Linked DNA regions of Homo sapiens: regions 2, 3, 4 and 5 are each linked to region 1. Evidence: promoter capture Hi-C in 16 types of primary human blood cells and fetal thymus (Javierre and others, 2016). All regions are on one chromosome and are shown on one strand. The core of a region is centred on a gene start or on the middle of the fragment in contact, and the rest is flanking DNA. Distances in the headings are between cores, read along the strand shown. Region 1 holds the start of RGS13 (regulator of G protein signaling 13). Region 2 overlaps GLRX2 (glutaredoxin 2). Region 3 overlaps RO60 (Ro60, Y RNA binding protein). Region 4 overlaps UCHL5 (ubiquitin C-terminal hydrolase L5). Region 5 has its middle 29 kb from the start of RGS2-AS1.

What was found. Contacts are between HindIII fragments. The CHiCAGO score rates a contact against its expected background, and 5 or more counts as called.
Region 2: a fragment that was not itself captured here is called in contact with the fragment with the promoter of RGS13 in region 1 in 1 of 17 cell types (neutrophils); the score reaches 5.6 in neutrophils.
Region 3: a contact is called between a fragment that was not itself captured here and the fragment with the promoter of RGS13 in region 1, in 1 of 17 cell types (neutrophils). The highest score is 6.9, in neutrophils.
Region 4: a contact is called between a fragment that was not itself captured here and the fragment with the promoter of RGS13 in region 1, in 1 of 17 cell types (neutrophils). The highest score is 5.4, in neutrophils.
Region 5: a contact is called between a fragment that was not itself captured here and the fragment with the promoter of RGS13 in region 1, in 1 of 17 cell types (non-activated CD4 T cells). The highest score is 5.8, in non-activated CD4 T cells.

The regions. Positions count from the first base shown.
Region 1 is chr1:192,634,708-192,637,396 of GRCh38, forward strand. It overlaps RGS13 (regulator of G protein signaling 13), which reads left to right and starts at 1,440. Exons shown (of 7, transcript NM_002927.5): 1 at 1,440-1,610. The HindIII fragment of the contact is 2,675 bases long and covers 273-2,689 here.
Region 2 is chr1:193,096,034-193,098,722 of GRCh38, forward strand. GLRX2 (glutaredoxin 2) reads right to left here. Exons shown (of 4, transcript NM_197962.3): 3 at 1,551-1,727; 4 at 437-726. The coding sequence ends at 592. Among named protein-coding and RNA genes, the nearest start is that of GLRX2, 8.0 kb to the right of the region's middle. The HindIII fragment of the contact is 635 bases long and covers 1,019-1,653 here.
Region 3 is chr1:193,070,455-193,073,143 of GRCh38, forward strand. All of the region lies in intron 2 of RO60 (Ro60, Y RNA binding protein), which reads left to right. Among named protein-coding and RNA genes, the nearest start is that of RO60, 12 kb to the left of the region's middle. The HindIII fragment of the contact is 2,294 bases long and covers 221-2,514 here.
Region 4 is chr1:193,036,725-193,039,413 of GRCh38, forward strand. The region is part of intron 3 of UCHL5 (ubiquitin C-terminal hydrolase L5); the gene reads right to left. Among named protein-coding and RNA genes, the nearest start is that of UCHL5, 21 kb to the right of the region's middle. The HindIII fragment of the contact is 4,210 bases long and covers 1-2,689 here.
Region 5 is chr1:192,976,217-192,978,905 of GRCh38, forward strand. No RefSeq gene overlaps it. Among named protein-coding and RNA genes, the nearest start is that of RGS2-AS1, 29 kb to the left of the region's middle. The HindIII fragment of the contact is 5,377 bases long and covers 1-2,689 here.

The DNA of each region.
Region 1 (2,689 bases), core at 190-2,689:
CAGCTCTGAATTAGTCTGATCCACCTATGTGCCGTACAAAGCATTATATTGCTATGATTTCATAAACTGAACTTGAACTACACTTTTTCAGAGAAACAAAACCATGTTTAGAAATCTGCCACAAATATCTACACATTGCTCTTGAATTCCTCCAGGAATTTCCACCTACTCGTGCTGTTACTCTTCACTCTATGATTTATTTGTTTTTCAGTCCCTGTCGATACTTAAGTTTTACTCTGTAGGGAGATTCTCATGTTTGACTCCATTAAACAAGCTTTGAAACTGACACTCGCACAGGGTGTTACTTCCAGAATCTTCCTGCCAGCTCCTTGCATCCACACCATGAGAAAGAGCAAACATTCCAAATCCCAAAAAAATGAATTATTTGGGGTGAGGAAAAGTCTTGACTATGACACTGAAGATTTCCTGAAGAGATCCAGCATCCAAAATGTCCTGAGTGGGGAGGAAATCGCACACCTAGCACCCAGAGAAAATGAGTGCTATCCACAAACAACCCAGATCCTCCCAAGCTGAGGCTAACCTGCCCTTCACTTCCTACATTATTGCTACATCTACGCAGCTTCTGACTTTCCAAAGTTTCCTTTCCTTTTCTAGTCCCAAACTTATCTCTCAGGTTTGAGAAATTCAATTTTCTTGGGTTTGAATCTCAAAATTATAAAAGACAAGTAAGGTTAATCTTCTATCTCATTGGGCCCCTAAATATTTTAAGAAACACTCCATCAACCACATTTTGATCTTCTTTACTGCTGTTTTATTCTAGCATTTCTTTACTCCTACCTCTCTGTTTCTCTCTCTCTCTCTCCCCCCAAACCCCCCAACTCCCCCACCCCTCCCCACACACACACACAATTGGAGTAAATCCAGGACAAGGGCATTCACAATCTTACCATATTCTGTATTCATTAGACCTTATCTTAAGCACTGTGTTCAATTCAGATTTTGAAGGCATGTTAACAAACTGTAGAACAACGGAGTCCAGAACTGCTGTAGAGGACCAGTTGAAGGAACTAGAGAGGTATAACTAGAAAAGATACTTTTTTAGATCCTTCAGTTGTTAAAAGTCCCTAGTAATCTATTACAAACAGATTGATTTTAATAGTTCTCAACCATTTGCTAACATGTGTTTGCAGTGATGTCCTATGTGTTTGTACTCAGTTCTCTGTCTTTTTTAAAAGGGAATTTTACTTTAGACTATACATTTTCTAAAACTAGAAAAATTATTTTGGAGAAAAAGATTTGAGTATTACTTTGAAGATTTCATGAAGCTGCTGCTTCCAATCATCTGATCACTTCAGATGGTCTGATAATGTTAGATAAAACCTCTTTATCAGTAATGCACTGGAGTCCTACAGCACTACTTTCCATATTCAACAAAACCTCTCTTTGCATAGATACGTGTGTGTAAAAACAGAACATTCATACTGAGGCCAGAGTGCCATCGAAGGTAATTATAGAGACAGTAAAATCCTTTTACTCTGGGAAAAATAAAATGCTGGGTGTCTCACAAAATTTCAGAACCTGATTTCAAACGGATCATAACAAAGAGGAGATCAAATTTAGCATGGTGGACTGCTCGACAGGATATATTTGTAAGTATGAGATTCTATAAAATAGTTGATAAATACAAGACTATTGGCTTGCTATAAATCACTAGCAGATGCTGATTTCAATGGTAGAACTTCTGGGAGTGTTAACAGAGGTTTTTCTAAGAAAAAAAGACAAACTAACAAACACATATTCTTTTGCCTGGCTTTCTATATTTAAAACAAAACTTAGAGTCACTCCTTATATAAATAAATCTTCTAAGTTGGGCAACAGAGGAAATGCTACAGTTTTAAAGTATATTATTTCATTTTATGTTTTTGTGTATATTTTCATTTTAAATGTTTTTCATTTTATATGTTTAGATAAAAACATATTATAAAATCAGACATAGCTGAATTATTTGTTTCAAAAATCATGCATTACCAAATTATTAGTTCCATCCTTTGTTAACTGTACTGAAGCCAGGTGTGGATTATTATAAGGTTTATCTGAAACATTGTTAATCTTGATTTTGTAGAATTTTTTTATTCTTTTATGTTATGCTTAAGCACAACTATGCACAAATTTCTTGAATTTTTTAAAGGACAAGAAATTTGTGTGCTGTGGTCAACAAAAGCTCACTAAAATATAAATTGCTCCAAATTTTACTAAATTTTATGTAACATGCTATATCATAAAATAAAGAAACATATTTAAATGCAGATATATGTAAACAGACAGAATTGCTTTAAGAAAATTTATTTATTTTCATAATACTTTAAGATTTCATTTAAATAATGGAGGAAACAAATCTAATTCTGGCATACTACTAATACAACTCAATCCATTACCAATGCATTTATAATCACTCTGAGAATTAGATTCTATCGGTGAAATGTATTTCTTTCAAATAATTATCAGGAGAAAACAGTGGAGGCAAAATCATCGTGGAGACCTAAACTTGTTCTAAACACTCTATGTTTCGATTGTAAAAGTACACACTAGTTTTACCAAGAGGGTATTGAAAAACAAAAAAGGAAAGCAAATTAATACACAATATTAAGATAAATATAGATTATTTAAATAAAAAGTAATGGAAAATTACAAATTAAAACAGTAAAGAAATTTTTATAATAAGCCATGA
Region 2 (2,689 bases), core at 86-2,585, 460 kb after region 1:
TTAATGACAAATGAACTATTAAGTCATTAATGACTTAATGAACTATTAAGTCATTAAATGAGTAATTTAGTTTCTCTAAGATAAATTTCATTCCATGCTAAAAATTTAATATACTTCTATTACTCTACAAGTACAAAGTGTGAAGGCTTTTCACAATATCGTATAAGATATTCCTGCCTAGTTCACAAGTGTATCAGCAAAAGCCTTAAATTTTAAAGAGAAATCAAATATCAGTCCTTACCACTTAAAAACTATGTGAGATAAAGAGTTAACTCCTGAATAGGAAATAAAGAATTCCAAATGCTTACCTTCTAGCTCTTGGTTGTAAAATTCATATCTAAATTCCTAATAAAATACATTCTTATCTTGATACAACTCCAACCTTTCATTTTTTTAATACCATCCCTTTTTCTCAAGAATTGGCAAGTGGGAAGAAGAGGTTTCCACCGCAATTTATTGTTCATTATTTTTACATCTTCTTCGTGAAGACAATGCATGTATTTAAAACATCCTCAAACATTTAAAAGACATTATCGGGCATTACCACTTTAAATAACTGACACTGTACTAGCAAACTTATTAGTATAAACATCACTGAAATTCTTTCCTCTTACTTTTTTTTAAATAACACTGATGAACTAGTGGGAGCAATTTTCCTTCTTTGTGAAGCCTATGAGTGTCAGTTGCACCTCCAATAAAAGTACCATTGACAAATATTCTTGGAACCTGTTGGACAAACAAAAGAAGAATTAGGCTTTACTCTAGTATCAGAACTAAGATCATTTCACATAATAACGAGACATTTGAACTCTGGGTACTTTTATGAGCCTGGCACCACAAAGCTCTTTCACAAATTAAATCTTAAAATCTTTACCCTTTAAGGTAGGTATTATTTTTAGCCCTGTTTTGGAGGAAAATGAGGCACAGGAACTTGCACAAAATCACAATGATGGTACATGACAGACTGGGATTCAAATCCAAACAATCTGATTCTAAAACCTTTCTTCCTGATTACTAAAGCTTTAAATAAACTAAAGCAGATAAACAGTAATATTTAGTTATTTCTTACATTTGTTTACTGAAGGGAAAGAGTGCACTATAAACTTTCAATAAACTTGAAAGTGGCAACACTGTACATTTTTCTGATTATGCATATTATGGAAAAATCCAAATTTCAAGAATCTAAAAACATGGAGCACTAAAGCACTCCTATTAGAAAAGTAATTGAAGACCAACCCCTGTATTGCCCAGGTAAAGGGAGGAAGAATACTTTCATCTTGCCAAGAGCTCCAAGAGGAACTCAAAGATCCATAGACAAGCACTCATAATAACACTACTCATCAACCCCAGTCAAAACACACACACAGAATAAAAATAAAATAAATCAACTCTGCTGTTTCCTATTCTAAGAATCTGGTTCCTAGATCTGCAGCTGCTTTATCTATCCTCAGAGAATGTCTGGCTCATTTTCCTAACACAAGGTTCTAGGCTCTGGGTGATCTAGTTTACAACCTATTAAAGAGGAACAGCACCACAGAGGATATACTCACAGTTCTTTCACCAGTCATTTTGTAAAGAGCATCTTGGAACTGGTTTCCATATTCAAGCAGGTCCAGTTCCACCACTTTATAGTTAACATTCATGTCATGGAAAAGCTTTTTTGCCATTGTACAGTAAGAACAGGATGTTTTTGAGAAAATCACCACACAATTATCAGAAATTGTTTCCTGAAATAAAACCACAAAAAATCATTTTAATTCTAGACATTACCATTTGGAAATAAATTAAGATATAATGGAAAGGGTATGGATTTTGGTCTCTCATGATTCTGGGCTCAAACTAAGCATCATCTATTTTTTCTCATCTGCAGATTGAGGATATTTTTCATTTCAAAGCAATGTTATTAGAAAAAAGATATAACAAAAAGTGCCTGGCATAGAGCAATAACAATAAATAATAATTGTAGCCAATTCATATACAGCAACCATTTCTGTGTGCCAGGTACTATTCTCAACAATTTATCTTCACTGTGTTATTTAAACCTCACTACAATCCTGAGGTAGGTCCTATTATTGTCCCCACTTCACAGTTGAGGAAAGTGAGGTGCAGAGGAAGATCAACAATTTGTTCATGGTTCTCAGCTAATAGGTGGAAGAGCTGGGATTAGACCCAGGCAAATCTGGCTCTACAGTCCAGATATTTAATCTCCATTATACTCCTTTTTCAGCCGGGTACAGTGGCTCATACCTGTAATCCCAGCACTGTGGGAGGCTGAAGCAGGCAGATCACTTGAGGTAAGGAGTTCGAGACCAGCCTGGCCAAAATGGTGAAACTCCATCTCTACTAAAAACACAAAAGTTGCCAGGCATGGTGGCACATCCCTGTAATCCCAGCTACTCAGAAGGCTGAGGCAGGAGAATCACTTGAACCAGGGAGGTGGTTCCAGTGATTCTCCAGCCTGAGGAACACAGTAAGTGGACTCTGTCTCAAAACAAACAAACAAACAAACAAAAAAACCAAAACATTGTACATTTCTTTTTTTTGAGACAAAGTCTCACTGTGTCCCCCAGGCTGGAGTGCAGTGGTGGGATCTCAGCAACCTGCGCCTCCCAGGTTCAAGCGATTCTCATGCCTCAGCCTCCCGAGTAGTTAGGATTATAGGCACCTGCCACCACGGCCAGTTAATTTT
Region 3 (2,689 bases), core at 118-2,617, 440 kb after region 1:
AATAAGAAAAACTCTTGGGCAGGAGTAATTTGAAGTGTGAAGTTCCACAAAAATCAACATGTTCAAAATTTGACTTTTTTTTTTTTTTTGCACCGGAAGTGAAACTTGAAAAGACAGCCACTCAGAAGGGTGGGTTCACATTTCAGTTCTGTGGACTTAAGCCAAGTAAGTTAAGCTGAGTTTCTGACCTTCATCTATTAAAAGGAGGGTAAGGAGAATAAGCTTACAATTATTGAGACTAAATGTCCCAGCACCTAACATGTAGTAGAAGTACACTTTGGTTCTCTATTTCTCCCTTCCACACATATTTTTATATACAGAATCTCTTCAGTAATTCCTGACTTATTTTTTAACTATAACTGGGGTTTTTCAAATGAAATGTAAATAATAAATTGCAAATATTTATATGTATAAACATTTTATTTTGATTTTATTAGATTACATGTTTTAAAATAGTTGAATAATACAGAAAAATATGATGCAGTCCTACTCTTCAAAAGAAATAACTGCATATCAGCAGTCCACAACCCTTCTGATACCAGGGACTGGTTTTGTGGAAGACAGTTTTTCCGCAGGCAGTGGGGAGGGCAGGGTGGTTTCAGAATGAAACTGTTCCACCTCAGATCATCAGGCATCAGATTCTCATAAGGAGAGCGCAACCTAGATCCCTCACATGCTCAGATCATAGTAGGATTCGTGCTCTTATGAGACTAATGCCCAGCTACTGATCTGACAGGAAGTGGAGCTCACTTGCCTGCTGCTCACCTCCTGCTGTGCAGCCCAGTTCCTAACAGGCCACGGACTGGTATCCGTGTATAGCCTGGGAGTTGAGGGCCCTTGCTGTATATCAGATGTTGTAATTTACTCCAGATTTTTCCTAAACATATATTACTGTGTTTCACTAAATTTTGTTACATGCCTTCTATGTTTCAGTAAAAAGTATATTATTGCTATTGCTATTGCTGTTTCTTTCAGGTCAGTAGAAATAGTTGCATATATACCATTGTATGACTGTAATTTATTAGCTAGTCTCTTATTGACAAGAGTTGTTTCTGGTTTTTTTATACTGTTACAAAAATACTACAATGAAAACACTTGCATAGAGTACCTACTTTCATAATGGTTAAATCCACAAACAGTATGTGAAAGGGATCAGTGTACCCACATTTGAACACTTAACTGTTGTCATTATTTTTTAATCTCTTTCAGTAGAATCATGAAAGATTCTTTGAATTTACATTTTTGGGCAGAAGCTCATCTTTGCATGTGCTGATTATATATATATATACACCTATATATTGTATAATATAGTATATATAATATATAATGTTAGTATATAGTATAGTATGTAATATATATATACCTATATACATATATATACCTATATATGTATGCATATAATTATATGTATGTATATATAATATATATGTATGTGTGTGTATATATGTATAATTATACAATTACATCATAGCCCTTTTGTCCACTTAGTTACTGTCTTTTTAACTATTGATTGTGATCACTATTCATTCAACAAATATTTATTTATTTATTTGTTGTATTTATTTTGAGATGGAGTTTCACTTTTGTCACCCAGGCTGGAGTGCAATGGCACAATCTAGGCTCACTGTAACCTCCACCTCCCAGATTCAAGCAATTCTCCTGCCTCAGCCTCCCAAGTAGCTGGGATTACAAGCTCCTGCCGCCATGCTCTGCTAATTTTTGTATTTTTAGTAGAGGCAGGGTTTCACCATGTTGGTAATGCTGGTCTCGAACTCCTGACCTCAGGTGATCCGCCTGCCTTGGCCTCCCAAAGTGCTGGGATTATAGGCATGAACCACTGTGCCTGGCCCTCAGCAAATATTTATTGAGCACCTACTATGGATAGAAACTGTTCTAAGAACTTGGGGTTCATATTAGAGGAGTTGATAATGTATTATTTATATACAGTGCATGCATTTTTTCTTCTTTTTTTTCTTTGTCTTTTTTTTTTTTGGTTGGGGGACATTTCTGGCACACTAAAGTTTTGAATTTTAATGTAGTCAAATTTATCCATGTCTTCATAGGTTTATGTTTTGTGTTAGGATTAGAAGGGCCTTTTCCAACCTAAAATATTTATCTGTGGTTTTTTCCTAACATTTTCTTGGTTAAGAAACATTATTTTTTACATTTAAATTTTTTATCCAAATATTTGATCCAACATAAGAAGGACTTAGGCATCCAGCTTTATTTATTGGTTTGTTGAGATGTGTCTTGGAAGTGTGGAGCAAGTACTAGACTAAGAGAAAGACCGCCCATTACTAGTTCTAACTGGACCAATTAGTTTCTGAACTTGTGAAAATAATTATTCTGTGCTTTGTCTTTTTGGTCTATATAATGAGGAATTAGTAGATGTTTCCTAAACTTACTTCCACACATAGGATTCTTTAATTTGAAATTGTTGAGGGCAGAACTCACAGTTGAAACCATGTTAGTAATAGCAATATCACATTGGACAGAGAATCCCTAGCATTTCAAAGCTTAAAAATTTGGAAAAACTCTAAGCTACAGAATTAATAGTATTTTAATGCCTTTAAGTGTAATGTGTATTTATAACAGACAAAACAAGTCAAAATGTGATTCAAGTCATCAGGTATGGTATTTTTATTGTGCACCCACTGCATGGCCAGCGCAATTACAGAACCGGGTAGGA
Region 4 (2,689 bases), core at 87-2,586, 400 kb after region 1:
GATAGACCATGTTAGTCCACAAAACAAGTTCTCAATAAATCACTGAATAATATGATTTATAGTAAAATAACATACCAAGTTTCTCTTCAGACCACAATGGAATAAAACTAGAAATCAATAATAGAAACCTTGGAAACTACACAAACACATAGAGATTAAACAACATGTTACTAAATGATGAATAGGCCAATAAAGAAAATAAGAAAAAAATTTAAAATGCATTGAAACAAATAAAAATGGAAATACAGCATACCAAAATCTATGAGATATGGCAAAAGCATACTAAGAGGGAAATTCATAGCGAAAATATCAAAAAAGTAGAAAGACTCCAAATAAACCACCTAATTATATACCCCAAGGAACTAGAAAAGCAGGAACAAACCAAACCCAAAATTATTAGAAGGAAAGAAATAATAAAGATCAGAGCAGAAATCAATGAAATCGAGACTTAAAAAAACAATATTAAGATCAAGGAAATGAAAAATCTTCAGGAAAGGTAAACAAAATTGACAAACCTTTACCCAGGCTAAGAAAAAAGAAAGACGATCCAAATAAATAAAATCAGAAACAAAAAAGGACACATAACATCTGAAATCACAGTAATACAAAGAATCATTAGAAACTATTATGAACAGCTATATACAAAAAAATTGGAAAACCTAGAAATGGACAAATTCCTAGATACATACAACCTACCAAGACTGAACCAGGAAGGAATAAAAAAATCTAAAGAATCTAATAACAAGTAATGAGATCAGAGCCATAATTAAAAGTAAAGCAAAGCCCAGGATGTGACAACTTCATTACTAAATTCTACTCAACATTTAAAGAAGAATGAATGCTAATTTTACTCAAACTCTTCAAAAAAATTGAAGAAGAAGGAATGCTTTCCAACCCATTCTACAAAATCAGCATTATTCTGATACCAAAACCAGGCAAGGACACAACAAAAAAACTACAGACCAGTATCACTGATGATAATAGATGCAAAAATCTTCAACCAAATAGTAACAAACCAAATTCAAAAGTAACAAACCAAATTAAATAATACCACATTAAAAAGATTATTTACCTAATGGGTGCAGCACACCAACATGGCACATGTATACATATGTAACAAACCAAACCTGCACGTTGTGCACATGTACCCTAGAACTTAAAGTATTAAAAAAAAAAAAAAAAAAAAGGTCATTTACCTTGATTAAGTAAGAGTCATCCAGGGATGCAAGATGGTTCAATATGTGCTAATCAATAAATGTGATACCAAGAAAAAAACTACCTAATTATTTCAACAGATGCTGAAAAAGCATTTGATAAAATTTAACATGCCTTTATGACAAAAACCCTCAATACACTGGATATGGAAGGTACATACCTCAACACAATAACAGCCACATAAAACAGACTCACAGCTAATATCATACTGAATTTAAAAAAAGTTAAAGTCTTAGGCCGGGCACCGTGGCTCACGCCTGTAATCACAGCACTTTGGGAGGCCGAGGCGGGCAGATTACGAGGTCAGGAGATCAAGACCATCCTGGCTAACACGGTGAAACCCTGTCTCCACTAAAAATACAAAAAATTAGCTGGGCATGGTGGCGGACGCCTGTAGTCCCAGCTACTCGGGAGGCTGAGGCAGGAGAATGGCGTGAACCGGGAGGCGGAGCTTGCAGTGAGCCGAGATCGCGCCACTGCACTCCAGCCTGGGCGACAGAGTGAGACTTCATCTCAAAAAAAAAAAAAAAAACCACAGTCTTTCCTCTAAGATCAGGAACAAGACAAGGATGATCATTTTTACCATTTTATTCAACGTAATATTGCAAGTCCTGCCTAGAGCAACCAGGCAAGAGAAGGAAATAAAAGGCATCCAAACTGGAAAGGAAGAAATAAAATTAGCACTGTTCATAGCTGACATAATCTTAGAAAAACCTAAAGACCACCAAAAAACTCTTGGAACTGATAAACGAGTTCAGTAAAGTTGCAGGATATAACCAAGCACAGTAGCTCACACCTGTAATCTCAGCACTTTGGGAGGCTGAGGCAGGAGGAATGCTTGAGCCCAGGAGTTTAAGACCAGCTGGTCAACATAATGAGACCCTGTCTCTACAGAAAATTCTAAAAATTAGCCACCTGTGCTAGTGCACACTTGTAGTCTTAGCTACTCGGGAGGCTGAGGCAGGAGGATTGCTTGAGCCCAGGAGCACAAGGTTATAGTGAGCTATGATTGTGCTACTTCACTCCAGACAGAGCAAGACCCTGTCTCAAAAACAAAAAAGTTGAAGAATATAAAATCAGCATACAAAAATCAGCTGCTATTATATATGCCAACAGTGAATCTGAAAAAGAAATTAAGAAAAAAATCCTATTTAAAAGAGCTACAAAGAATATAAAGTAGGCCAGGTGCAGTGGCTCAAGCCTGTAATCCCAGTACTTTGGGAGCCCAAGGCGGGCAGATCACTTGAGGCCAACCTGGCCTCAAGTTTGAGACCAACCTGGCCAACATGGCAAAATCCTATCTCTACTAAAAATACAAAAATTAGCCTGGCATGGTGGCACATGCCTGTAATCCCAGCTACTCAGGAGGCTGAGGCACAAGAATAGCTTGAACCTGGGAGGCAAGGTGGAGATGAGCCAAGATCGTGCCACTACATTCCAGCCTGGGTGACCTAGTGAGACTATGTCTCAAAAA
Region 5 (2,689 bases), core at 75-2,574, 340 kb after region 1:
GGTAGTGTTTTATCTTCTGCAGTAGCAAATGGAAGTTATTGACTCCTCTGAGATAATATAAAATCCAAAAATATTTAAGAAATAATAAAATAAACTTAGCTTAACATTTACCTACATAACTTTCGGAAACTGATATAAATGCACCTTTCTCTGTGCTCTCCATTCATACAGTATAGTTAAAAACTATTTTTCTCCTATCCTATAAGTCAAATAGAGATTTTAAAAATATTTAAAATGATAAAAATGAGACAATGTTGGAATACTACTGAATTCCTCAGAGATAGGCACAATACGCCTAAAACTGCACATGTTATGAACAATATTGATAACTACTGGGAGACTTTGGCAAACACTTAGCAGCTAGTGTGCTGCAAAAATACTCTCACTCTTCAAAAAATCTATTTTTTTCTCTCCAGCAACAAGAGGAATGCTCATGCACCCAACGGAGGTGGGTGCCAAATTGTTTCACCTTTGACATTCCCCTTCCCCAGTCTTTCACAAATTCTCACTCTCAGCCCTAAGGGAGTGTGTTTGGGCTTGGGAGTTGGGACAGGCTCTGGAGTTGTTGGCAAAGATAAAGAGTATTGAAACGAAGGCAAGTGAGATAAGAAGGGAAAGAAAAAGAAGAAAAAAATATATCATAGGACAGGTGAAGAAATACTCTCCACTTATCATTTTAAGTTAATTTAAAAAAGGGAAAGGGGAACCCAAAAATAGGTTCTGAGCTGCTTACTATGATGCAAATTAATCTCATTCACACCCCCTAATTCGCTGGGCACTTCCAAGATTCTCCTGAAAAAAATCAATATTTTTTTAAGTGTTTATGAATAAGGGGCTCATTGATTTTAAAATTTGACAGCATGTAGGAAAAGAAGACTGGTTAGCAGAATTTAAAATAGAAAGAATCAAAAGCCTAGGTTAGAGTTATATCCTTCAAGTTTAGACAAACTTAGCATCTAGCTTTATTTACATTTCAATGAATACTTGGGACACCTTTTATGATGAATTTACAGGGGTCCCCAACCTCCTGGGCCACAGACTGGTACCAGGGTCTGTGGCCTGTTAGCAACCGGGCAGCACAGCAAGAGGTGAGCAAGCATTACCTGCTGAATTCTACCTCCTGTCAGATCAGCAGCAGGCATTAGATTCTCATAGGAGCACGAACCCTATTGTGAACCGCGTATGCAAGAGATCTAGGTTGCATGCTCCTTGTGATAATCTAATGCCTGACGATCTGAAGTGGAGCTGAAGTGCTGATGCTAGCACTGGGAGCAGCTGCAAATACAGATTAACCTTAGCAGCGAGGTTTGGCTGCACAGAGACCATAATAAATCAACTGCTTTCAGGCTCATATCAAAACCCTATCAGTGAGTGGCAAGTGACAAATTAAGCTGCATCTGGTGGCAGGCTTTACAGTGACGAGTGAGTTGATGTATTTCAATTGTACAGCTGCATTTAATGTCAGGCTTTAAGTCAGAATCAGACGCATTTTATTCCGCTTATGGCCCGCCCATTATTTTATTTACCACTTCCATTCATGCCTCTTTCCCACACTGCACACTTGTCTCAGTCACAGTTTTGGTAAGCCCACGAGCTAACCCTAGCCACAGTGAGTAAAAAACAAATATCACTGGAGAGCTTCTTGGAAAAGGGGAAAAGACCCAGTGATGAGACAGCAGAAGACTCTAAGACTGCCAACAAAAAGTTGCATTTAAAAGAAGATACCGAGACTTAAATTACAGGTTCATTCCAACAGGTGATTCACATTCTCCAAGCTGGCTTTATATATGTGGTGACTGGCTACCCAAAGAAGCCATGAAACCTTCAAAACTTCTTCACCACATGCAGACCAAGCACCCTGCATTAAAAGACAAAACTTTTGCATCTTTCAAAAGAAAAATAATGTGAACATGAAGAACGGTAGCAATTATTGAAGGCCACCACTTCATCAAATGTGTCTGCACTGAGAGCATCATTCTCAGTGGCTAACGGCACTACTAAAGCAAAGAAATCCTTTACTATTGGTGAAGAGTTGATCCTGCCTGCTGCTAAGGACGTTTGCCATTAACTTTTAGGAGAGGCTGCAGTTCAAAAGGTGGCACATGTTCCTCTTTGGGCCAGCACCATATCTAGATGAACGATGAAACAGCAGAGGATATTGAGGCACCACAGTTAGAGAGGATTATTGAGTCACTGTGGTATGCAGTCCAAGTTGAGGAGTCTATCAGTGTTGACAACAAGGCAACAATGCTTGTTTTTGTGTGATGTATTTTTTTTCAGGAGCATGTGCAGGAGGATATTGTCATGCGCTTCCGTGTGAAGAGACCACCAAACAGGCTTTGTGTGAACAATAAAGGTTTTTAATCACCCGCTTGCAGGCAGGCTGAGTCTGAAAAGAGAGTCAGCGAAGGGAGATAGGGGTGGGGCCATTTTATAGGATTTGGGTAGGTAGTGGAAAATTACAGTCAAAGGGGTTTGTGTTGTCGCTTGGCTGCCTCTTCTCTATTATTGTACACTTTGAAGGCAAAGTTAATTAAGTCCTGTTGTGGGGTTTGAGGGCCGGAATCTAATTTTTGGAGTTTTATTTAATGTCAGGAGCGGATTGAGTAATAAAATGCATATTGAGAATAAGACGGCCTTCTGACCTTTTATGATCTAGGGCTGTAAAGCGTCTCAGGGTTGCTGCCAA